Regions from separate parts of the Homo sapiens genome. Here region 2 is linked to region 1. The links are contacts of gene promoters, found by promoter capture Hi-C in human tissues and cell types (Jung and others, 2019). All regions are on one chromosome and are shown on one strand. Each heading gives the region's core, a stretch centred on a gene start or on the middle of the fragment in contact. The rest is flanking DNA. Distances are from core to core; before and after follow the strand shown. Region 1 holds the start of IFT46 (intraflagellar transport 46). Region 2 has its middle 40 kb from the start of CXCR5.

Region 1 (3,677 bases), core at 852-3,351:
TGAGGAGTCCCATAGTGGCAGTATCTTATAATGGTTAAAAGCAGAGACTTAGGAATCAGACTGACCTGTGTTTGGCTGCTATTTTCAGCGCTTATTATGAGTGACTTTAGGCAAGTTACTTTAACTGTCTAAGCCTCAATTACTTAATCTGTAGATTGGCAGTAACATCTATCTCATAAGGTTGTGAAGTAAATTAGATGATATAATCTAAGTGCTCCCCACAAAAAAACTAAGTGCTCCTACATAGTAAGTACTGCACATTACATATCCACTATTACGAGCAAAACAGATCACAAATTTTTTTTTAAATGCAGTTCTATTTTTAACTATCAGTATGCCAGAAAAGCTGTCTCTCATTTTTTAAAGGCACTTTCCTTGTTTACCTCTGGTAGGTTTTCAGGGTCAAATTTCCAATATTATTTTCTTTTTAAAATGTATTGCTATTATTATTATTTTGAGACGGAGTCTCGCCCTGTCGCCCAGGCTGGAGTGCAGTGGTGCGATCTCGGCTCACCACAACCTCCACCTCCCGGGTTCAAGCAATTCTCCTGCCGCAGCCTCCTGAGTGGCTGGGATTACAGGCGCGCGCCACCATGCCTAGCTAATTTTTGTATTTTTAGTAGAGACGGGGGTTTCACCATGTTGGTCAGGCTGGTCTTGAACTCCTGACCTTGTGATCCACCCACCTTGGCCTCCCAAAGTGCTGGGATTACAGGCGTGAGCCACCGTGCCCGACCAAAAAATTATTATTGTTATTATTCATTATTTATATTTGAGATGGGGTCTTGATCTGTTGCCCAGGCTGGAGTGAATGCAGTGGCCCAATCTCGGTTCACTGCAACCTCTGCCTCCCTGGCTCAAGCAATCCCCCCGCCTCAGCCTCCCGAGTGGCTAGCACTATAGGTGCGTGCCACCACACCTGGCTAATTAAAAAAAATTTTTTTTTTATTTTTAATAGAGTGGAGGGGGGCGGTTCTTGCTATGTTGCTCTAGCTGGTCTCAAACTCCTGAACTCAAGCAATCGTCCCACCTCTACCTCCTGAAGTGCTGGGATTACAGGTGTGAGCCACCGCACCTGGCCTCCAATATTTTATGTTTCTCTCTCCCTGACTTCCCAAATTAATTATGTCCACAGTTTGAAAATATTTGTTCCTTACATCTCCATTCACTCATTCCTCGATTCATCCACCCAATGAGCATTGTTAGTGTCTAATTTCTGCAATACACTGGTGTTACAAAGCTTAAAAATTAATTAGACACAGGTCTTGCTTTAAATAAGTTAAAAGTCTACTTTAGCAAATAAGAAAGACAGGACACAGAGTGAAAAAAAATTTTTTTTGAGACGGAGTCTCGCTTTGTTGCCCAGGCTGGAGTGCAGTGGTGCGATCTCGGCTCCCTGCAAGCTCCGCCTCCTGGGTTCATGCCATTCTCCTGCCTCAGCCTCTCGAGTAGCTGGGACTACAGGCGTCCGCCACCACGCCCGGCTAATTTTTTGAATTTTTTAGTAGAGACGGGGTTTCACCGTGTTAGCCAGGATGGTCTCGATCTCCTGACCTCGTGATCCGCCCGCCTTGGCCTCCCAAAGTGCTGGGATTACAGGCGTGAGCCACCGCGCCCGGCCCACAGAGTTAAATTTGAACCTCAGATACCCAAGGAATAATTTATTGCTATAAGTATGTTCCATTCCATGGCACCCTGTGGAGGGGAAAGACTATAGTGTAATATAGTGCTAGAAAAGGACTTACAGAGTGCTGCGAAATTTCCCCTGGAATGTGTCTACATCCTGGTAAGACTGATCTGGGAGCAACTGCATCCCCAGAGATTGTTGTCCTAGGGGAACAAACGCACACCTTGTTTCCAGATTGAAGGGCTAACTCTACACCAGCCCGAAATTTATCAGCCGCGTTGCCACCCATAGCCGCTAGATGCCGCAACAGACGTATTTACTGAAACCATAGACAAACAGGCGACTTGGCCGCCCAGAGAGGCTTTATCCGTGACTCCTTGATCTTCTTCCTGCGTGGAGAGCCTTCGCGGGTGAGGCTTAACGCGCAGGAGGTCTCACGAGAGTGGAAGCAACTCTCGCGAATTTTAAAATTTATCTTTTTGCCTAGCGACTGACAACAGGCTGGTTGCTTGGCGTGGAATCCTAAAGTGGCCTGGCTTTGAGACTGGAGTGAGACCCCAGCCCTAGGCTGGGGTTCTTTCCATTATAGAGGAGACGGATTCAGAAGGGCTACAGGTAATTAGTACTCATCCCAGCAAAAAGGGAACTGTCTTTCTAGAGAGGCTTAAGAGGACTCCCCTTTACCCCATTCCCGGTTACCTCTTCCAATCTCCGTGGTAACTGTTCCTTCGTCACCTCACCACCAACCGTCCTGCTTCCTTTATTCCCCCAAGAAACTTAGGTGGGATCCTATCTGCAAGATAAGGGTGAAAGTGGAGGTGATGATTTTGGGATTATCGGATGGGACTGAGAGACTGGAGTTTCCCCTCTCTTCGGGGACCCTCCCACCCTACCCCGCCTCAGCCCACCCCACCCCACCCCACCCCACCCCACCCCACCCCACCCCAGAGGTGACTCCAGAGACAGAACTCTTTCTAGAACCTCTACAGCCTTCCCTGAGAAACCTCAACAGCCTTGGCCATCTACATACAAATAGTGTTCTGCCCTTGCGCGTGGTCGTACAGCTTTGGGAAGCTGCAGAAGTTGGCTCTCTTTCCCTCCACGATTCCCTGGTTCCTCAGCCAGCCTGCCAGCAGTTCCTAAATAAGGGCTGCAACAGAATGACTTAACTGCTTGACCGAGGGCCAGGAAGCCTGAAGGAAAGTTTGGATGGGGTGATGGTTTTGTGAAAAACTGGTTTCTTGAGTAAGGAAGAGGAGCCAATGCTGGTTTGGAATATACCTCCTGGCAGAGTGCTTTATGTCTCATGATAGGAGCTATGAATTATGTCTCCCTTTGCTTAGACCAAGGTTGTTGAAAACCAGACATATGATGAGCGTCTAGAGATTAACGACTCCGAAGAGGTTGCAAGTATTTATACTCCAACCCCAAGACACCAAGGTAAGAGAGGAAAGAAGAGAAATGCTACTGAAAGAGCAGGATGGATTCACGGTTGTCTTCAAGAAGTTCTTATTTTATAATAGCAAATGTTGACTTTCAGCGTCAATTTACTTCACTTGCCATTGTTTGTTTTCTGACTAGTTAAGGGGGAGAAATCATAGCCTTCCAAATTACAGGATCTTCCCCCAATCCAACCCTGTCACCATTTACTTCATGTTACTGCTTTGCTCACTGTCTGCCAGGAATTCACTGTTCTTTTTCTTTTTCTTTTCTTTTTTTTTAACTTATGTTTTTCCTAGCTTTGAAGATGCTTCATAACCTCCCCTTAGCCTGCAACCCCAACCAAAATCACAGTGGAATGTTTTTAAAGGACTGAACACTATTTATTTATTCAACAAACTTTTTTTTCTTAATTTTATAGAGACGAGGCCTCGCTATGTTACCAAGGCTGATCTTGAACTCCTAGCCTCAAGCAGTCCTTCCGCTTTGGCCTCCCAAAGTGCTGGGATTATAGGTGTGAGCCATCGTGTCTGGCCAACAAGCATTTTAAAATGCCTACTGTGTGCCAGCCTTATGCCTGGCACTTGGGTAAATAGTGTTAAATGACACA
Region 2 (3,677 bases), core at 393-2,892, 280 kb before region 1:
GGCAGGAAAATCACTTGAACCCAGGAAGCAGAGGTTACAGTGAGCCAAGATTGTGCCACTGCACTCCAGCCTGGGCAACAGAGAGAAACTCTCTCTCAAAAAATAATAAATAAATACATAAATAAATTTATCCAAATCCAAAATTATATTTCTTCCATCCTGATCCCACTCTTTCAAGATCTATTCCCCTACCTATTCCCTGAGTTTCAGTCAGTATAAATCAGCATTTGAGGATCTTGGTAAAATATAAAAGGAATTGTTTGTACTATTCTTATAACTTTGCTGTAAATATGAAACTATGTCAAAAAAAAAACATGAAGCAATGTATACATTGACAAACTCTCAATATTCTTTTGGTTTGTATGGTATTTCCTCATGAGTCACCCTGGGGCCTGCTATGACTTGAATCTCTGAGCTTACAGATCTAAAAGAGGTGGAAGGGTTAGGTTCCTAGGAGGATCACAGTCCCCTGAAAGGCCACTAGCTCTGGGGAGGTCATCCCAGGTTCTTTAGGTAAGGGAAGATTAACTGCAGATAGAGAAGAAGGTCACTTTTTTTTGGCTAAGGAGGGTTAGCTGAATTTAGGGTTTAAGGCAGGGGTGTCCAATCTTTTGGCTTCCCTGGGGCACATTGAAAGAATTGTCTTGGGCCACACTTAAAATACACTAACAATAGCTGATGAGCTAAAAAAAAAAAAAGAAAAAGAAAAAGAAAGAAAAAGATCACAAAAAACCTCATAATGTTTTTTATTGTTGTTGTTGTGGTTTTTGTTTTTTGTTTTTGTTTTTTCTTTTGAGGCACAGTTTTACTCTTGTTGCCCAGGCTGGAATGCAGTGGTGCTGTCTTGGCTCACTGCAACCTCAGCCTCCCGGGTTCAAGCGATTCTCCTGCCTCAGCCTCCCAAGTAGCTGGGATCACAGGCGACCGCCACCACGCCTGGCTAATTTTTGTATTTTTAGTGGAGAGAGGGTTTCACCATGTTGGCCAGGCTAGTCTCGAACTCCTGACCTTAGGTGATCCACCCGCCTCGGCCTCCCAAAGTGCTGTGATTACAGGTGTGACCCACTGCGCCTGGCCAAAGCTCATAATGAAAGTTTATGGCCGAGTGTGGTGGCTCAAGCCTATAATCCCAGGACTTTGGGAGGTTGAGGCGGGTGATCACCTGAGGTCAGGAGTTCGAGATCAGCCTGGCCAACATGGTGAAACCCCATATCTACTAAAAATACAAAAAAAATAGCTGGGTGTGGTGGTGCGTGCCTGTAATCCCATCTACTCAGGAGGCTGAGGCAGGAAAATCACTTGCACCTAAGAAGCAGAGGTTGCAGTGAGCCAAGATCGTGCCACTGCACTCCAGCCTGGGTGACAGAGGGAGACTCTGTCCAAAAAAAAAAAAAAAAAAAAGAAAGTTTATGAATTTGTGTTGGGCACATTCAAAGCCATCCTGGGCCACATGCAGCCTGCAGGGCCACAGGTTGGTCAAGCTTGGTTTAAGGTCTTTGACCTCATAGGAATCCATCCGTATGTCTGTATCCTAAGACTCAGGGTCTTACTCCTTTCCAATCAATGTCTTATTTTGAACATAAGACACCCTGGTAGGTTATGAATTCACTTTGCGTTGAAATTCAGTCTGCTGCAAGTGGACACTTAGTGTTTGGTGATCAGAAATCTTGACCTTGAGGCTATCAGAGATGAGAGTTTTTTTTAAAGGCAGTCTTCAAGTTTTTTGGTCCATTTTCCAGAACTTGAGATGGAAATTTAAAGCCTTTAGCTCATCATTTTCTTTCTCCAAACTTTCCCCATATGTAGAAGCAACCAACATTCCTCATTACATTCCTATTTCTACTAAAATGTTCTACAGCAGCAAATATTTGGCTACCCAAAGCTTTGCCGTCTATAAGCATGTATCACAAGTGATTACAGGTAGAGTTTAAGAATTTAAGTTTACTGCTGGCAACAATCATGAATGCACTTAAGTTTAATCAGGTCAGAGAACCAGTTTCCAATTCCTATCCTTAATGATCTGTCCCCTGAAACCACGGCCAGTACCAGTAAGTGTATCAGTCAGGGAGGTAGAACCTTCATGAATGATGAGATAAGGAATTTATTATGGGAACTATGCTTTACACAATTGTAGAAGAAGCTGGGGAAAGGAAAGACCAAGAGGTTAGTCAGAGAATCAAAAGAGGAGTCACCAATGTGGGGAGGGAAGTGCATCTGGCCACTGACATGGGGCTGTGATGAGAAGGCTCCTGGAGAGCCATCTGGGCAGCCGCCACCTCTGTGGATCCATCACCAAGTGTCTGGTGGTCACTGGTGGTCAACAGGGTCAGGAATTGGAAAGCATTTCTGGACACTGATCAGAGCAAAGCAAGGACAAGCTAGAGCTCACTAACACTTCTGTCACCACATCTAACCACAATGACATTTAGAGAATAATACTTGTGGCTAGGTGTGGTGGCCCACGCCTGTAATCCCAGCACTTTGGGAGGCTGAGGCGGGTGGATCACGAGGTCAGAAGTTTGAGACCAGCCTGGCCAATTTGGTGAAACCTCATTTTTACTTAAAAAACAAAAATTAGCTGGGTGTTTTGGGGCATGCCTGTTGTCCCAGCTAATCGGGGGGGTTCATTTTTGCCTTTTTTTTTTTTTGAGACAGAGTCTCGCTGTGTCTCCCATGCTGGAGTGCAGTGGCATAGTCTTGGCTCACTGCAACCTCCACCTCCCAGGTTCAAGCGATTCTCCTGCCTCAGCCTCCCGAGTATCTGGGATTACAGGCGCCTGCCACCACACCTGGCTAATTTTTTGTATTTTTAGTAGAGATGGAGTTTCACCGTGTTGGCCAGGCTGGTCTCGAACTCCTGACCTGGTGATCCACTGCCTCAGCCTCCCAAAGTGCTGGGATTATAGGCCTGAGTCACCATGCTGGGATTACAGGCGTGAGCCACCATGCCCAGCCCTTAATGTTATTTTTATGTTTGATAACGGCATTGTGGTTATGTAAGATAATGTCATTCTTAGGAGTTGGGGTTTAAATATTTAGGGGTGAAACTTCAAATGGCTTTGCATTTGTTTATTTGTATTACATATCTAGTGAATACAACAAAATGTTCAATCGTTGAATCTAGGTGGTGGATCTGCAGATGTTTCAACCTTTCAGTTATGTTTGACATTTTTTAATAATAAAGTAACAGGGAAAATAAAAGACTCCTCTCGATTCTTACCTTCTCTGGAAGGCTTTCCTACCCACCTCCTGTTACTGCTTTAAAGTCTGTGCTGTCCATCCTTTTTCTTTCCAAGGTATAGCTCTGTGGCATATATCATACTGTACTTTAATTTCTTGTTTTCTGGTCTCTCTGTAAACTTTGAAGTCCTTAAAGGGCAACATGCTCTCTTTCATCTGTAACTGTCCAGCATTTATTCCTGTACCTGGCACAGGATTGGGTGACTCATTCATCCTCGTTCAGTCAAGAACAGAAGAAAGTCTAATTTAGGAATTTTCTTCAGGGCTACCAATTCAAGTGACTCCAAGAAGAGCAACGGTTTGAGGTTTTTAATTTTTGTTTCACATTATAGAAGTGATGCTTGCAAATTAAAATACTTTTAAAACAAACTAAAAAGTAGAGTTATTTCATTCCTGTCATATACACACTTGTTAGAGTTGAGTTTACCATGTATCCT

The links. The method cuts DNA at HindIII sites, captures the fragments that hold promoters and counts their contacts. A contact is called where the count stands out against the background at its distance.
Region 2: a fragment that was not itself captured here is called in contact with the fragment with the promoter of IFT46 in region 1 in 1 of the 25 tissues and cell types used here (spleen).

The regions. Positions count from the first base shown.
Region 1 is chr11:118,564,355-118,568,031 of GRCh38, reverse strand. It overlaps IFT46 (intraflagellar transport 46), which reads left to right and starts at 2,101. Exons shown (of 12, transcript NM_001168618.2): 1 at 2,101-2,242; 2 at 2,971-3,067. LOC124902764 (a long non-coding RNA gene) reads right to left here and starts at 2,971. Exons shown (of 4, transcript XR_007062907.1): 1 at 2,658-2,971; 2 at 2,327-2,420; 3 at 1,746-1,830. RefSeq lists an enhancer at 1,829-2,058. The HindIII fragment of the contact is 14,646 bases long and covers 1-3,677 here.
Region 2 is chr11:118,842,306-118,845,982 of GRCh38, reverse strand. No RefSeq gene overlaps it. Among named protein-coding and RNA genes, the nearest start is that of CXCR5, 40 kb to the left of the region's middle. The HindIII fragment of the contact is 5,445 bases long and covers 1-3,677 here.